Linked DNA regions of Homo sapiens: regions 1, 2, 3, 4 and 6 are each linked to region 5. Evidence: promoter capture Hi-C in 16 types of primary human blood cells and fetal thymus (Javierre and others, 2016). All regions are on one chromosome and are shown on one strand. The core of a region is centred on a gene start or on the middle of the fragment in contact, and the rest is flanking DNA. Distances in the headings are between cores, read along the strand shown.

Region 1 (2,876 bases), core at 192-2,691, 1.8 Mb after region 5:
ATATGCTAATCAAAGGGAATGTAGAAACTATAGAAAAGCATGCTGGATTTGGGTTAATGGATTGGTCACACACAATGAAATCCCATGCCCTCCTGAAACATCACTCAAGCACAGCAAGGTAGTAGGGGGGCTTTGTTTTGAGAGACGTGACAATAATGAATCAATGCATGGGGTCTGACTTAGCAGGTCTGGAGAGTGGGAGAAGCAGACCCTCAAGAAGTGACCTGATTTACCTTGTGGAACCCCCAAAGCTCAAGAATTTGTAGCACCAGGGACATCTGGAATTGGGGATGCCAGTGGGGCTAGAATGATGATAGCTGGTAGAAGGTGGGTTGTGGGTTTAAGGCTAGGCACGGTGGCTCACGCCTGTAATCCCAGCACTTTGGGAGGCTGCCGGGGGAGGATCACTTGAGGTCAGGAGTTGGAGACCAGCCTGGCCAACATGTTGAAACCCCATCTCTACTAAAAATAGAAAAATTAGCCAGGCGTGGTGGTGAATGCCTGTAATCCCAGCTACTCAGGAGGCTGAGGCAGGAGAATCGCTTGAACCTGGGAGATGGAGGTTGCAGTGAGCCGAAATCACACCACTGCACTCCAGCCTGGGTGGCACAGTGAGACTGTCTCAAACACACACACACACACACACACACACACACACACACACACACACACACACACACAGAGAGAGAGAGAGAGAGAGAGAGAGAGAGAGAGAGAGAAAGTGGGTTTAAGATGTAGTTATCCCTTAGTGGCTTCCTGCTTCCTTAGCAGGCTACTGACCATCTCACCCCCAAGAGGGTAGTCGCTGCCTGGTCAGTCTCTGGAGAAAGTGAAGCAGAACCTTTCTGGAGTGGGGAAAAATTGGAGGATTAGGTGAAAGTTTACATGCTCAATTTTGAGGTGTCTATATCTTTTCTCCTACTTGGCTCCCCAGGGATCTGGAAGCCAAGCTTAAAACTTGGGTGAGAGATTGGGCAGACATTGGAAATAAACAGGGCCAACCATAAGGGCCACTGTACTTCCCAGTGCCTCCTCCCTTCAGCCAAATCGGCTCTGCTTGGTTCCTTCCTTCCTTCCCTCTCTCCCTCCGTCTCTCTCTCTTTCTAGATGTAACTCATAGATCATCAAGTTCACCACTTTTAAGTGTGGTTTTTAGTATCCGGAGTGGTTTTTAGTATATTCACAAGGTTGTACAACCGTCACCATCACCACTAATTCCAGAACATGTCATCACCCCAAAAAGACATCCTGTATCCATTAGCAGTCACTCCCCAATCCCTTCTTCCCACCTGAGACTCTGGCAACTTCTAATCTACTTTTTCTATCTATGATTTGCTTATTCTGGACATTTTCTAGAAATGGAATAATACAAAATGTGGTCATTTATGTCTGACTTCTTCACTAAGCATAATGTTTTCAAGGCTCATTAATGTTGTAATATATGTCAGTGCTTTATTTCTCTTTGTGGCTGAATAATAATTCCATTGTATGGGTAGACCATGTTTAATTTATCCATTTATCAGTTGATATCCAGTTGGGTTTTTTCTATTTTTTGGTTATTACTTGTTTTATATGCTTGGTTTTAATGCAAGATTTGTTTTCAACAGCGATTTCTAACTAAATAAAAGTCTGAATACTACTGGCTTAGAGAAACCTTTTCATTTTAGGATTTGAAGATGTTGGCTGTTGATTGCCTGAATCTCTTTCCATGAGGAACATGAAAGCACCCCTCTCTAAAATAGCATTGGACACCCTGGGGGACCTGACCCCATGTCCACATCCCCTTCTGTGGTCCCCGACTCCTAGCCACACACGATGCACACCAGCCTCACGGAAATCTACAATTCTTGGCACTGTGCCACCGCTTCCGGGGCACCTTCTGCCTAGAGTGCCTTTTCTCTCTTCTCTTCCTGTCCAGATCTATTTCACCAAGAAAGCTTTTGACCAGAAATCCAGGGCTCCTATTGTACAGCCCTGTCTCTCTACAAAACCAGAAGGAACTTCATGCCACATAGAGCCCTGCAGGTCCCACAGCCTGTCCCAGGTCCCTGGATCAGGAGGGAGGGCTCTTGAACGCGTAAACCCCAGGGACATGGCAAAATCCTTTCCTTCTCCTTTTGCAGCAACAAAAGGCCCCCAAGCCCTCCAAATGTCTGCTTTTTAGCATTGCTATTTTGGTTCTATTGTTGTTCTCCCTCCTAAGGAGGAGACGGTAACTAACTGCATTCTGGGTCTGCCCAGAGTATGATATATCTTCCTCCGCTGGGCCCTGGGCAGAGAAGCTGGGCTGCATTGATTTCCTGGGTGAAACGGAAGTGCAATTCACAGGCATCTTTCAAAGTGGAGAAAGGTCCTGGGTGTGGGCTGGAGCTGGACCTGTCTCTCCTGGCTCCCCTCAGGCAGGGCTGTGGATGATGCACCTAGTCCTGTTTGCCTGACAGAAAAATCACTTGCCCAGAAAATGCAGAACCCATCCCACTGCTGGACCTCAAATCCAGCATGACTAAGGCACCTTAGTCATCTTTAAATGGATTCTACCCTTTTGCCTGTTTTTTCTGTTTTTTGGTTTTTTTTTTCATTTTGTTTTCCATGTATGAACCCCACAGAAGAGAACACAAGGTGATGGATGAAAATGTTTGAGCAGTTGCTACCCAACTCGTAGTGATAAAAATACTCAGGATATAAAGTGGTAACACCGCTGACGCCTCATAATTACCCAAGTTATGTTGCACTTTTGATTAGAAAATGCAATTATGTTTATAGTGTTATAATCTCACCTGCCTTTGTGTTTTTGAGAAAATTGCAAGAGAATACCTCTCCTGGAGTAGGCTGCCCTTGCTAATCAGTTGATTCATGTCTCTTGAAGTGCTCATTGC
Region 2 (2,918 bases), core at 218-2,717, 1.7 Mb after region 5:
GAGTTAATGGGTGCAGCACACCAACATGGCACATGTATATATATGTAACACACCTGCATGTTGTGCACATGTACCCTAAAACTTAAAGTATAATAATAATAATAATACATTCCTTTTTTTAGGATTTAGTTTCTCATGCCACTTAAATTTTATTTTTCATATTATTCAGCTGAATTTTTTGGTAGTTCCTTACTTGATCTGTGGTTTTCTAACAATGGCAGGGTGCAAGCTAGTTACAATTATATTTAAACAAACAAAACTGTATATTTTATCTAATTCCTGATTGTCAGTAGATTCTGGAAAGAGCACTGTTGCAACCAAGAACTTCACTGACATATTGTCCTATGTGTTTCATTTGCTAAGGATCTTCCACCATAAAAAAAAAAAAAGTTAGTTTTTGTAGATATCATACCAAAGTGTATTAGTTCCACTGTTTTTTGTTTTGTTTCTTTCCTCCAAAACTCTTACACTTCCTCCAACAGCAAGAAGTATAAGAACTTAGGAGGAAAGAAATATCTTCCTTATGCTTATGAAAAGAAAGGTCCAGAGTCATTCTTACTCTTGTATGCCTTTTTACCTAGGTAGCTTGTAAAAGCCTGTCTTTGCAATGAAGATTAAACACTTCATAAGTTTAAATATCTAAGCTTGTCATTTCAGGGCTTCCCATGGATGATACTCTGGGAATCTCCTAAAAACCCATCTTGAGAAATGTTAACTAAATAAAAAAATATGATATAGAAACCACAATCAAAGAAATGAAGACATGTACAAATGTATCTTTCCCATTGTTATATGCAGCTTGGATTTCCTGGTGCCTTTTCAATATTCTTTCATTTTTTTAGACTTTTTTTTTTTGGCTTTGGGCATTTTAATTTGGTTGTGCTATGTTCCTCTATCTTCCGCATCAATGAGTCTTTGCTCTGAGGTATCAATTCTGCTCTTTACAGCCTCCACCGAAAGTTTTACAGCTTCTCTGTTGAATTCACAAGTTTAACAATTTTCTGAAATGGATTTATCTTACATTTGTAAAGTCGTTCTTTCAGATTCTGTCACTTTCAGTGCAGTTAAATCAACCTTATCATGCCAGCTTCAGGTGGCACTGCTTCTATGTTCTTGCCGCCTTGCCTGTCCTCTCCCATAAAGTAACATTTTTAAGTTTGACTTGAGATTTGGTTTTGTTTTTCGTATTTCTGCTCTTTAAAGCTTATCTCACTGGGGAACAATGAGCATTTCAGAGGCTTTGTTTTGTTGCTATTGCTGAATTTTGTTTACATGAGGGTCCTTGTGGAGTTATTAAAGGCACTTAGACATTCAATAATCTTTTAAATAAGATTATCCTCATTTTTCCTTTCAACTCTGTTTTTCCAACTCTTGTACACTTACCGTTCTGATTTTTTAAAAGTCTCTCTTACCTACCTCTTAAGTCTATTCCTGAATAAGATAAAAGTGTCTGCAACATCTTTTATTCCATTAGGGTTAATTTGGCTGGTCTGAGTTCTAAATAGATTCTACATAGATTTCTCGTGAAGACACATTTCTCAGGTTGTTTGAAAACTGATTATTTGCAGGGTGGTGCTAAATTATCACCCCACAATCACTTGCTGGCCACAAGGAAGAAAACCACCTTTGCAAACAAAGAACCAGGCCATCACCATCCAACCCACTGATGGCCTTCAGCATCACCAGATGTGGGGCAGCCAGGTATTAAGAGACTTCCAATGCAAAGCACTATGAAGCTTAGTTGCATCACCTATAAAATATCCTTCCCAAAATTTAATCTCTATTTACAGGTATATATAGAAACAAGTTAGAAATACCACGAAGAAGCAATCAAGTTAATCCAGAATCTACAATGTGGGATTATATGTACTCACCAATTCAATGACAAGTTTTAAAACAAACAAAACAAAAGGGAGGGGGGTACTGTCCTAAAGTCAAAAGGACTTTAGGGACGTAAGGACCAAATGCAATGTGTGGATCATGAAGTATCCTAATTTAAACAGGCCAACTGTAACACTGCTGAGATACAGAAATCTGATGTAGACAGAATATTTAATTTTAAGGAATTACTATGAGTTTCCTTAGGCATGATAATGTTATGATTATGGAAGAAAATGATACTACTTTCTGAAATGCATACTAAAGTTGATGGAGTTCAGGACATATCATTCCAAAATAAGACTCCAGGAGACCAGACTATGCCACCCCAAATATGCCTCTTTAGCATAAGAGTTATTTTCTACTAATTATTTTGGGCAATAGCAGACATAGGGGAAGTTCTGAAAACAGGAAGAAGAAGTTACCGTTTTCTCAGAGAAATATGTATCTACGAAGGAAATCTCTAATTTGCAAGTATGTCTCCCTCTCTGTACCAGAAAGAGAAGGATGACTCTAAATCACTGGAAACTCTTATCAACAAAGAAGGTACAATCTACATAACAAACCTTACCCTTGCTCACTGCTTTTCCTGACCACCTCTCTACAACGTGGCGGCTTTCCCTGCACCTTTCTGTCTTAGTTTCAGTTGAAGATGGTATTTACACCTGAACTCAAAGCCACCTCTTGGAGAATTATTCATTCCATGGGTATCTCCCAGGTATACAGGAAGTATACATGTTAAAAAGCTTCCATTTCCCTCTTGTTAATCTGTCTTTTAATACAGGGGTTCATCTCAACTAAGAACTATGAAGCATAGAGAGAAAATTATTTTCTCCTCCCCTATAAGGCCCTGATATCTGGGCTTTATATCAAAATACTTCTGAGAAAAACAGAGATGGGACAGATGAAGCAAGTGTATAAAAGGATTATACTGTTCAATATCAGTGGGTGAAAAATAGGGGCTCATTAAGCTATTCAAATTATTCTCTATCTTGACATGTATTTTAAACATTTATAATAATGGTAAAACTAAAAGTTAA
Region 3 (2,700 bases), core at 68-2,567, 1.5 Mb before region 5:
AAGCTACCCAATGGTAAGTTGTTACAGCAGTCCTAACAAAGACAGCTAGTGAAGTTGAAGATGTATAGATCTTATCACCAGGGACCTCACTCTTAGGTACATTTCTCAGAGAAATCTTGCATACATGCATAGAGAAATAGAGAAAAATAGCAGCCTTGTTTATAATAGAAAGACATTGGAAATAAGCTATTTTTTATTTTTAGAGACAGGGGTCTCACTATGTTGTCCAGGCTGGACTTGAACTCCTGGGGTAAAGTGATCCTCCTGCCTTGGCCTCCTAAGTACCTGGGACTCCATGTGCACACCACCATGACTGGTTTGAAAATAACCTAAATGTTCATCCCTATGAGAATGGCTAAAATAAATTGTGTATTTCTGTATTCATGATACTATACATCATTAGAATGAATGAAATTCGATTGCATATATCAATTGGGTAAGTCTCAAAAACTATGTTGAGTGAAGGAAGCAAGTCATTAGGAGAATCAAGGCTTGGTTTGAAAATAACCTAAATGTTCATCCCTATGAGAATGGCTAAAATAAATTGTGTATTTCTGTATTCATGATACTATACATCATTAGAATGAATGAAATTCGATTGCATATATCAATTGGGTAAGTCTCAAAAACTATGTTGAGTGAAGGAAGCAAGTCATTAGGAGAATCAAGGCTATTTGCTAAAGTTTAAAAACCCACAAAAGTAGTATTACTGTTTTATAAATACATATGTGATAGAAATATAAAAATATGAAAGAGAATGACATAAACTTCAGGACAGTGGTTTCCTCTGGGATGCAGGGAAGGGAATGAGATTAGGGAGGACGACATCAAGTATATCTGTAATATTTTAATCCTTAATACAAGTGAGAGTTATGCAGATGCTTATTATACTGTTGTTGATACTTTTTATATGCCTGAAATAATAATAATGTACTTACATATAATTTCCATATACTCTAAAAATAGAGGAGATAAAGCTTCTCTACAGTCAGAATAATTTGTACTTCCCTAAAGAACCTCTGAGAGACCTGATAAAAGAAAGAAATGCAGGCAGCAGTCCAATGTTTTCAGTATTAATTGGAATTTGGATCTTAATTTGGGTGCAGAGGAAGCCATTAAAAGGTTGTGGCTGAGGAATGATCTCATTTTTGGCTTGCAAGGCCTTTGAAACGCGACTCTGTTTCTCTTAGTCATCCTCATCTGACTGTCCCAGCCTCCCAAGTTTTTCTTCTAGTAACTTCACACTTCTGGTAAGTTCCTAGTTATGCCACTCACAACTCCGTGCAGTTGCTCATGGCTCCCTGTGCTTAGCACTTATTTCTTTCTAGATGATCCACACTCTCCTTTCCAGAGCCAGCTAAGGCAATGCTATCTCTTACCAAGTTTATCTTGTTTCCCTCAGGATGGGTTAGGTTTCCCTCTGAACTCCCAGAGCTCCCTTTAGTATTGATGGCCAATCTTATTTCATCTTTGTCTTTCTGGTCCCCAGCAAAGGGCTGGAGTCAGCATAAGTGCTCAGGAAATGAAAATGTTGTTAGAGCAAGAAAGTATAAATGGAGCATTTGTTCAAGTCCCTTCTAGAACTACTGACTTCTAATAATGGCTCACATGGTCATAAAATAACATCACAGTGGAAATTAGATCCTATAATCCTTCATAAAGCTTGAGTAAAAACCTTGGAAAAGAAAACTCTGAAAAAGGGGTAGGATTGGGTGAAGGATTGGGTGTGAGGTTTGGAGGGAGAACATAGTGATGGGTCCAGACTTAAGAAGCTTCCTGATAGCCACTTAGCAAGGTGGAGTCTGCATAGACAAGAACCCAAGTCTCTTCATTCCTGGCCAGGGCTCTTTCTTTTGTTCTACTTTCTGTGGCTTGAGAAAACAGCTGCTCTGTATCATCTTCTTAAAATCTCTTCCAGTACTTACAACAGGAAATGACTCTCCAGTTCTTGGGTAGTGAAACTGGGTCAACTATAACAGGTGGCTTGGAAGAACCTATGATAAGAGGCACTAGAGAACAGACAAGCCTCAGGAAAGCAATATTAAACTTAAGCGGGGTCTCAGAAAGGTCTTTGTAGTTGAATCAAGTTAAAACAAGTTTGGTTCCAAGGGTCTGGTGACTCTCCTAAACATACTTACACATCTGGATATTGAACTGAATTCCAATAGAAATCCATCATTGAGGATTATCTAGGGACAAATTTTTGTGCAAAAAAATAAATGATTGAATGATGAATTATCATATAGATGACGTTGACCAGCTGTTCATCATTAAAATACAGAATAAGACAGAGGCCATAAACAAGATAAGGCTTCCATGGCATTAGAAGAAGTGTGGATGGATGTGCTAATTATCTTTGAATCTCAGGGTCAACCTAGGGCCTGGAACATGGTAGGTTTGCACCAAGATTTTCTGACTGAATGGATGAGCTCTGGAGAAATTGCATGACTGGAAACAGCTTCACCAGTCACCTCTTATATTAATGCATCTGGTTTGGAAGAGAGTTGGTGGCAAAATAAAAAAAACAGACTTCCTACAAGAGCTTTTACCATCAGGCTAACCAGAAACACCAAATCCATGTCATCAGCGGGATTAAAACCAAGGGAAGGCTGGGCAGGGTTCTTAATGGTTGAGAATGAGGAGTTTCTGGGTTATGATGGTGGCTTTCCAGTAGTGCTTGATTTAACCACCCTCTCTCTC
Region 4 (3,092 bases), core at 150-2,649, 1.4 Mb before region 5:
CTTTCTGCAGTTTTACCAGCATCTACCTCTCCAGCTCCTTCCAGGAGGAGTCGCTGTTGCTCTCCTCTCCCTGGATCGGCCCCACTCATTTCCTGAGTCTTACCTGACCAGAATAGGGCATACACGGTGGGCAGGAGGCCAGTATATGTGGCATGGTCCCAGGGCTTGATGTGGAGCGGTAAGGCCAGGGTAGCCAAACGCTCAGGAAGTCTCTGTTTTTAACCATCAACTCCATCACATCATCTGTCATTCGTGGTTTGTCGTATTTATTTCTCCATTTCCTGTTGGAGCTCAAGCCCTACCTTGAATCCCAGTTCGTTTGGCAAGAGTCCTGACAGCCTGCCAAGCTCCTGAAACCCTGTTCATCCTGGAGCATCTTCCTGGTACCCTCTGACCACTGGGGACGGTCCTAAGCTAAATGACCACATCATCTGGGAGTTGGTGCTACCACCTGTTTGACTCAAGTGTCTCTTGCACCCAGATTCTGATGACTGTCCTTGAACCACTAGACTGTGATACTGACATACTGACACCCCAGCCAGACTGACATCCACTAGATTCTCATTTGATTTTGCCACACCACAGGGCAGGGCCTAGTGGAAAGGACACTCCTCGTCTTGGCCCAGAAAGTCTTATGTCACCTGCTTCCTGCTTGCCCCTGAGCTCAGCTGGCAGCACTTTCCCTCTTGTTTCCTGCACTCGAGGGACATTGGTCTTCTTTTTGTTTCTTGAACATGCTAAGCTTGTTTCTACCTCAAAGCCTTTGCACATTCATTTGCTGTTCCTTCTACCTGGAGTTCTCATTCTGTGGGTCTCTTCAGCTGGTGGTTCTTTTCCATCATTAGGTCTCAGTTCAAAATCACCTCCACTTAGAGTCTCTTCCCTGAAAGACTCTGTAACCCTCCCAATCCCCCTTTGCCCTCCTTCCTCACCAAGGCCTGTCAGTGGGCCTGGGAGCCTCCTGTCCTTCCTCTCCACCATCCACTACCAAGGATGCCCCTTCAGTCTCTTAACTAGGGGCTGACAACTTTGTCTGCTCAGATAGTAAATATTTTAGACTTTGTGAGACATATACTATCTCTCTTGCATATTTTCTTTTGTTTGTTTTACAACCCTTTAAACATATAAAAACCATTCTTAGCTTTCACTTCCACACAAAGACAGACCATGGGCAAGATTTGGAATCTAGGCCGCATTTGAACAACCTGGCTCTAGATCGGCTCACCTTATTTTATATGCTTCACAATGTATCACCACCTGGAGTTATCTTGTTCATTTATTAACTTGATATTGTTTGTCTCTCCCATGAAATGGCTGAGAAATGTATGTGTCTTGGATCTCTGGTCTCTGATACAGTGCCTGGCACATAGTAGGCCCATGAAATATTTTTGTTGGATGAATAAATAAATAAATAAATGAATGCACAGGTTTTGGAGGCTAATGAATTTGGGTCAGAATCCGCTCATGCCATTTAATCCCTGTAGAAATTAGGCAAATCACTTAACATTCTAATTTTCAACGTTATCATTGGCAAAATGATAGTAACAAAAGCTCCCTTGCTGGGTTGTTGATATGACAGATTAGGAGGATACCTACAAAGCACCCAGCCAGGAGAAGGCCCTCAATAAATACTAGCTCCCTTCTGCTTTCTTCCTTTGGCACACTTTCTCCAGAAGGGACAGCATCTCTTACTTGTTTATCACCCAGTCCTAAGTCTGCTGCCTCATCCTCCCTTGGTCCAACCTCATCAAGCTCCCAGCATGCTTTGTGGCAGAGCCTCTCCAAGTATGATGAACCTCTTGGAGCAACAAACAGTGTTTACAGCAGAGATTGCTGCATGCAGTTGGGATGGAGGCCATGAGTGTGATTGATGGAAGCTGAGAGCATGAAGCTATCTGGTGGGGATGCAGATCCCCTTGGATTTAGAGAATGGCCTCCGCCCCTCCTTGTCCCTGACCAGGCCTGGCTCTAGCTTTGATTGTAATTCCCCTGACTTTTTGGAGAGAGATGGGAGGAAACAGCACAGCCAATGAAGAGACTTCCAAACTCCCCCCAGGGAAGCTTTTTGCTTCATGAGCTCCAAGGAGCTGGAATAAGATCCTCAAAGTGTGCATGCTGCCCAGCTGTGGCCACGTGGAGGGTCTTGGAGGAAATCTACAATCCCAGAATGTCAGAGCTGAAGGGAGCTGAGAGACCCCGTGAACTCCTCCTCCCTCCTCACTGAGATCTGTCCGTGGGCCATGGAGACTCCTCTCCTTCCTTCCTCTTCATTATTGCCCCAGCCAGCCTTGTTAGCTAGCTCTCTCCTGGTGGGTCTGGTCTAACTGCCACTGTGATGTCCCTTCTAGGCCATTCTTTTTCTGCTCTAGAGTCCCCTCTCTAAGTCTGATCAGGTTAGTCCCTACTGAAAACCCTTGGACGGATCCCATTGCCTCTGGATGAAGTCTAAATCCTTAGTCCGTTTGTGATGTCGTCCACAACCTGGGACCCATCTATCTTTCCCCATGCACTGCCCTCCACTGTCCCACTCTCTTGGGCTTCAAGCACACTTCAGCCTTTGAGCTCTGCTGGATCGAATGCCTCCACTCCTGTAAGATGGCCCTAGACCTTCCCTCCTGCCCTCTTCCAAGGTTGCACAGCACTCTCACTGGTCCTTTAGAGTAGCTCTCTTGACACATGGCTCTAATTCATCTTACCAATAGCTAACATTTATCAGCTGTTGACCATGTGCCCGGCCTTGATCTTCCCTAAGTACCTTAAGGTTTAAGTCATTTGCTCTCAACCACCCTACAATTAGGCAATTATTATTACTATTTTAGAGACAAAGTGAGGGACTACAGTGTAAAGTCACTTGCCCAAAGTCACATGGCTAGTGATTGGGGGAGCTTGGACTTGAACTCAGAGTATAACTCCAGAGCCCACGTCTAGTGCACTGAGGTTGTGAAGATACATCAGACGTGGGTCCTGCCCCATAGGAAATCCCAGTCCGTGAAAGCCAGGGACAAGAGAGATGGTATGACTTAGTTAACATAAAGCCTGGCACAGAGCAGGGCCGTGACTCCTGCTTATTCTTATAAGGAGCACCTGATCAA
Region 5 (2,700 bases), core at 119-2,618:
TGGATGCCAGTGCGGATCCTGGCCCATCAGAGATGGGGAAAATGTAAGTCAGTTTCCTTTTCTTACAAGCACGCTAAATCTATTCAGCCTGGCACTTTCCCGTCAAGGAGGAGTTTCTTAAAAATTGCTAAGTGGTATGGTCGAGGTGGGGGTGGCGGGGAGAACTCAGAGGAGGGAGATGAAGTCATACCAACATGCCCCTGCTCACCCCTTTCCAAAACTCAGCTATTTGGACTGGAGTGATTTGCCACAGAGAGAAACATGCCCTTTGCCCTGAGACAAAGGGGAGCTTTTCCTGACCAGCAAAAGCTAAAATGGATCCTCTGCCCTGATTTAAAACCAAACTTGTGGGTGAGAAGCCACATGATTCATGGGAGAAAATGACTTGACTCCAAATATATAATAAAAAGTATGGAAGCAACACACACACACACACACACACACACACACACACACACACACACATGCACACGCACATCAAAAGAAACTGACTTACTGAAGACGGAAATAGAGGAGAGTGGAGAATTGGAGAAGGAAAAAGGAAGATGTGGTCAGTCAGGCAAGACGTCTCCAACTGTGCCAACAGCACTCAGCCATCCAAGGGGCAGGGAATGCTGGCGTAGGGCAGGATACTTTTCCATACATCTCTATTTATACAAGCACCTCTGATAGTCTCACAAAGTAGTTATTGTACCAGTAATTCTCTTTCATGAGTGAGGGACCCAGGGCTCAGGATGACGGACACACTTGCCCCAGGCCACACAGTTAACAAGGAGCAGAACCCGGTCTAGAGCCACAAGCCACAAAAGAGCAATGCACAGCCGGCTTCCTAGCACCAAGCACTGCTCTCTGACCAGGAGGCCCGCTAATCACTGCAGAGGCCAGATACAGTCCACAAGGGCAAGTAAACACAGAGAGAAGCCAGCGGGCGCTTCAACGGAGGATCTGGGAATAGGTCAGGAGTCCAGCTGGCTGGGTAGAGCTAGGCCACATGCTGTCATTCCTCAGCACCTCCTGTCCCCTCACACTCCAGGTGGCACAGGACATGGCACACTCCTCTTCCCTCCCACCCGCCCTGAGCAAAGCCAGTGTGAGCAGAAATGCACTGGCTGACACCTGACATGTTTATTCCTGCCCAGGAGGCAGCACACACAAGCAGTTTTTCCCCAGGGCTCTCAAGTGGGAGGAACTTGTCCTGCAAGAAAAGACACACAGAAAGCCAGCAACAAAACTGAGACAGCCTTACCCCTTCCATTGCTTTCCTCCAAGGCAGAGTCAGGGAAACAAGCCCAGCCTCTCAGAGCTGGGTCCTGGGGCCAACAATCCGCTTTCCTCTGTCTCTGCTAGCCAGGGAGCAATCACTTCCCACAGGACACACCTGAGCCCAGGCTCCCCACCTGCCCCATCTGGGCCGAGGCTCCTCCCTTGCCTGGGGCTGGGCCAGGGCCGGCCGCCATCCTCCCAGCTTGGCTTAGACCAGCACCTGCAGGGGACTGGGGAGAGTACTCCACCTGCAGTCCTGCCAAGCCCACCTCTTCTCAGCAAGCGGCTCTTCCCGTTGCTCCCCTCCGGCTGGTCTGACAGTCACTCACTCTCCAGGGCATTTGTGCCCAGGCAGCAGGAGCTGTGAAGGAATGGGGATGGCAGGCTCCTGTTAGTACAGACCATGCAGGCTGGACAGTGTGATCCCCGTTAGTAACAACCTCTGCCAGCTCCGCCCCTGCAGACGGCTACTTAATTTCACAAACCCTTTCTCACGGTCAGGGAAACCAAAGCCCAGCAGGACAGCATGCCTAAGCCCACAGGGGGATTTAGTGGAGGCCAGAAAAGGAGTTAACATAAAGGAGCACCCTGTTTTTGGCCTGGTGTTTATTGAGGCATTTGGATTCCCATTTTAAAAGGTGAAGAATGGCCGGGTGCAGTGGCTCACACCTGCAATCCCAGCACTTTGGGAGGTCGAGGTGTGTGGATCACTTGAGGTCAGGAGTTTGAGACCAGCGTGGCCAACATGGTGAAACCCTGTCTCTACCAAAAATATAAAAAAAATTAGCCAGGTGTGGTAGTGGGTGCCTGTAATCCCAGCTACTTGGGAGGCTGAGGCAGGAGAATTGCTTGTACCTGGGAGGCAGACGTTGCAGTGAGCCGAGATCATGCCACTGCACTCCAGGGGGACAGAGTGAGACTCCGTCTCAAAAAAAAAAAAAAAAGTGAGGAAACTGAGTCTCAGAGAGATGGTAACACCTGCCCATGGTCACATAGGTAGTAACTAGAAGAGCCAGGGTTGGAACCCAGATCTGGCTGACTCTAAAGTGATTTTATTTTGCTGGGGTTATTTTTGTTTGTTTGTTTTTCTGACAGAGCTGGAGATGGAAACCCAAACCTCAGTTGCCAGTTTTGGGGCTTTCAGCTCTCCCGGGGTTGGGGATGGGCAGAGTGGGTGGCCTGCGCCCTGCTTTATGTGTAACCGGTGTGACTTTTCTTGCTTTGTCAAGTTCTTAGAAATCTTCTCCTGTCCTGACCAGGGAGAGGCGGGGTGGAGCACAGGTGAGGAGACCCCGCCTGAGGGCCATTTCCTCTAACAGGTGATTCCCAAACCTGGCTGATCACCAGAGCTGCCTGGGAATCTATCAAAAATACAGGATTCAAGTCCCAGACAAAACACTGCATCAATGCTTCTGGCCCAGGGACTGGCAGTTTGGG
Region 6 (2,742 bases), core at 59-2,558, 1.2 Mb after region 5:
GAGAAAAGGAAACATTTGTGAATCAGCGGTTACCAACTGAGCACTCAGCCATGACCGTGGTTCTTCACCAGGGCTTCCTCTCACCTGGGTTTAATAAGCTCCTTTTTTTACCAAATCCAAAGCATGCAACTGGCACTTAAAGAGAGACCTGCCCTGATGGGGTGTTATTGGGGCCAGGATTTAAAAACTGCAGGTGAAACAGAGCCCTTCCATTCTGGGAGAGCAAGCCTCACATCAGATCTTCAGGGTAGTGCAAGGTGGATTAACACAAAGGAAGGTCCCTGCTCCCAAGGAAGCAATGCCCAGCTGCAATGATGAGTCATAACACCCTTCCCTGCAAAGCTTAATACATGTAGAAAGTTAAATATGTGCTATGAATAATATCAAAAGACCAAAGATACTTCAACGCTTAATTTCAGTGTCTCCAATTCCCCATCCCTCAATGGAGACCATCATATGTACGTTCGGGTCTTAATTTCTTACTGGCCATCCCACCCTCCTTGCCTTCCCTAGGGAGCCTCCACAGCCCACTCTGCTCCCCACACCAACCCCACTAAGCCCCGACTCTGTTAACTATGTCTCTTTAGTTTCTGTATTTCTGATGCTTTGATGTCTGGGGCCTTGCTGTTACTGCAGACTGCTACTCCATTCCCAGGCTTAGCTAATTCCTAGAGATAGTAACAAACTCTCTCAGGAGCTCACCTTTCAAATGTTAACCAATCGCTCTAGAATCCATATCCCCAACCACCTCCTTTATCTACTCTAGCCCATTTATCCACTTGCCCCTATACCTGAGCCAGGAACCAGACAGTGGGGACAGCCTCTATTCCCCAGAGCCTGCTAAATTATCTAAACCAGCCAAACTGCCTCACCTGTTCCTTCCCACAGAAACCACAATAAAGGCTCTTGATCAGGGTCCTGCCTTCCCTCTACCTCCTGAGCAATCCTGGTGCCTTGAGTGTGCACCCCCACAAGGCATGGCACTTTGTCTTGGGGTCTGTGAGTGTAACAAGCTATCTTTTCAATGGGAGTCATCTCCTGATCTGTTGGCCTTGCCATACCAAAATAATAACAGAACCTATATTTGAAAATACTTGACCCCCGCTCAGAGCCTTCTGTTCCATCCCCCGTCCCCCACATTCTTTTTCAGCCTACAGGAGTTTGACATCTGAGACTTTGGCCTCTCCCCAAGTCCTTGCACCTGGAGCCAGTAAGAGGCAGTGTGGCCCGGTAGTGAAGAGTACAGGGGTCAGAATGCCTGGGCCACCTAGAAAAGATTTCCTCACCTTTTTCTGTCCCATTTTTCTCTTCTTTCTACAGGGATAATAAAAGTACCCATCTTAATAATTTATTGTCGAGGTTGAATAAAACAATAAATATGAAGTACTTACAAAAGTGCTTGGGACATGGGAAGATTTTAATAACTATTAGTTATCAATATTATCCATTATTGTTAGGAAGCAAAGAGGAACAGTGCTAGCAAAACTAGCAAAAAAATATATAAAATTTTACCTATTGCTTCACCAGTGCTTTCCACACACGTAGAATAAGGGGTGGGCAGCTGGGAGGAATGATTGCATATTCATAAGCATCTCCAACCAAATTAATTGATAGGGCACGATAGTAATAAAAGGAATTAATTTCCATTTTAGTAACTTCACATGCTACATGTTAAGTATAGGTCCATATTACCAGTGGTCACCCAATTCCCCTTTGCATCTGTTCCATGTTGATTATGATGTCAGGAAAGCAAAAGTTAAATCCCTTTTTAAGGAAGAAAAAAAATCTAATTTAATAACATTGCAATCCTGTTGAAAGCATGATTAAATCTTAATAAGAGTGGAAGGATGTTGTGTTTCATGTCTATCCCTCTTGAAGCCCTGGTAACTTGTTCAGGGATATAGACGGGGTTGTCAAAGGACTTCACAGCCCAACCCTGGTCTCATCTGCCGGCATCCAAGACGCAGCAGAAATCTCTGATGGTGCTGACACTTCTATTTTCACTTTTCTCATCCTGGTGTTTTTTCTTATTAAAGCAGTTTGATTCTGTAATTTCTACCAGTACAGATAAAAATAAAATGACTCCCAACTTTTATTTTGACCTTATAAAACTGTGTAATTGGTTCAGAACCTTCAGGCTAAATGAGTTTCCTGCGGATTGAGAACATTGGAAGAGGAATCACAGAGTTAAAAATATACCACATGTCTAAATAGAATTAGCTCATAATATTCTATTTGAATGTACAGAAACTGCAGTCTAATGTCAATCTCATGAAAGCTTAGTTTCTGATGTATTCATATTTTTTCTCTTCAAAATAAACATAACAGCACAAAGTGCAACAAAAGGCATCCACTTCAATTCTCTCTTCTTTTCCTGAACCTCACAACTCTCAGAGAGTCCTAATTAACTACAGAATTGTGTCCAACCTCCTAAAGGTTGCACCTGGGACCCCGGGGATTGGCTCTTGCTGAACTCCCCAACCTCACCTGTTCCAACTTCATCAGACCTATGCATCACCCCCTGGATACATTACAGTTCCGTAAACAGCTACACTGGTCTCTAGCTCTGCATCTTTGCACATGCTTTGCTGCCTATCTGAAACATACTCTCCTAATAATCTTTTTTCCAAACCCAACTCCTTCTTAAGAGTTAGTTCCAGTGTCTCCTCATCTGTGAAGCCTTTAAAGTCTTCCTATTGAGCAGACCCAGGAACCCAGGCCCTCTGAGCTCTCACATAATCT

The links. The method cuts DNA at HindIII sites, captures the fragments that hold promoters and counts their contacts. A CHiCAGO score of 5 or more calls a contact.
Region 1: a contact is called between a fragment that was not itself captured here and the fragment with the promoter of FYB2 in region 5, in 1 of 17 cell types (naive B cells). The highest score is 6.1, in naive B cells.
Region 2: a contact is called between a fragment that was not itself captured here and the fragment with the promoter of FYB2 in region 5, in 1 of 17 cell types (naive CD8 T cells). The highest score is 5.0, in naive CD8 T cells.
Region 3: a contact is called between a fragment that was not itself captured here and the fragment with the promoter of FYB2 in region 5, in 1 of 17 cell types (M2 macrophages). The highest score is 10.9, in M2 macrophages.
Region 4: a fragment that was not itself captured here is called in contact with the fragment with the promoter of FYB2 in region 5 in 4 of 17 cell types (M2 macrophages, M1 macrophages, naive B cells and 1 more); the score reaches 10.7 in M2 macrophages.
Region 6: a contact is called between a fragment that was not itself captured here and the fragment with the promoter of FYB2 in region 5, in 6 of 17 cell types (naive CD4 T cells, M2 macrophages, total CD4 T cells and 3 more). The highest score is 7.9, in naive CD4 T cells.

What each region holds. Positions count from the first base shown.
Region 1 is chr1:58,647,899-58,650,774 of GRCh38, forward strand. No RefSeq gene overlaps it. Among named protein-coding and RNA genes, the nearest start is that of MYSM1, 51 kb to the right of the region's middle. The HindIII fragment of the contact is 987 bases long and covers 949-1,935 here.
Region 2 is chr1:58,495,326-58,498,243 of GRCh38, forward strand. All of the region lies in intron 8 of OMA1 (OMA1 zinc metallopeptidase), which reads right to left. It also overlaps a transcript of DAB1 not described here. Among named protein-coding and RNA genes, the nearest start is that of OMA1, 50 kb to the right of the region's middle. The HindIII fragment of the contact is 533 bases long and covers 1,202-1,734 here.
Region 3 is chr1:55,361,553-55,364,252 of GRCh38, forward strand. No RefSeq gene overlaps it. Among named protein-coding and RNA genes, the nearest start is that of MIR4422, 140 kb to the left of the region's middle. The HindIII fragment of the contact is 685 bases long and covers 976-1,660 here.
Region 4 is chr1:55,378,644-55,381,735 of GRCh38, forward strand. No RefSeq gene overlaps it. Among named protein-coding and RNA genes, the nearest start is that of MIR4422, 150 kb to the left of the region's middle. The HindIII fragment of the contact is 1,319 bases long and covers 741-2,059 here.
Region 5 is chr1:56,818,036-56,820,735 of GRCh38, forward strand. It overlaps FYB2 (FYN binding protein 2), which reads right to left and starts at 1,369. Exons shown (of 20, transcript NM_001004303.5): 1 at 1,247-1,369. The coding sequence starts at 1,255. The HindIII fragment of the contact is 7,052 bases long and covers 1-2,700 here.
Region 6 is chr1:58,038,477-58,041,218 of GRCh38, forward strand. It overlaps a transcript of DAB1 not described here. Among named protein-coding and RNA genes, the nearest start is that of DAB1-AS1, 180 kb to the left of the region's middle. The HindIII fragment of the contact is 1,936 bases long and covers 341-2,276 here.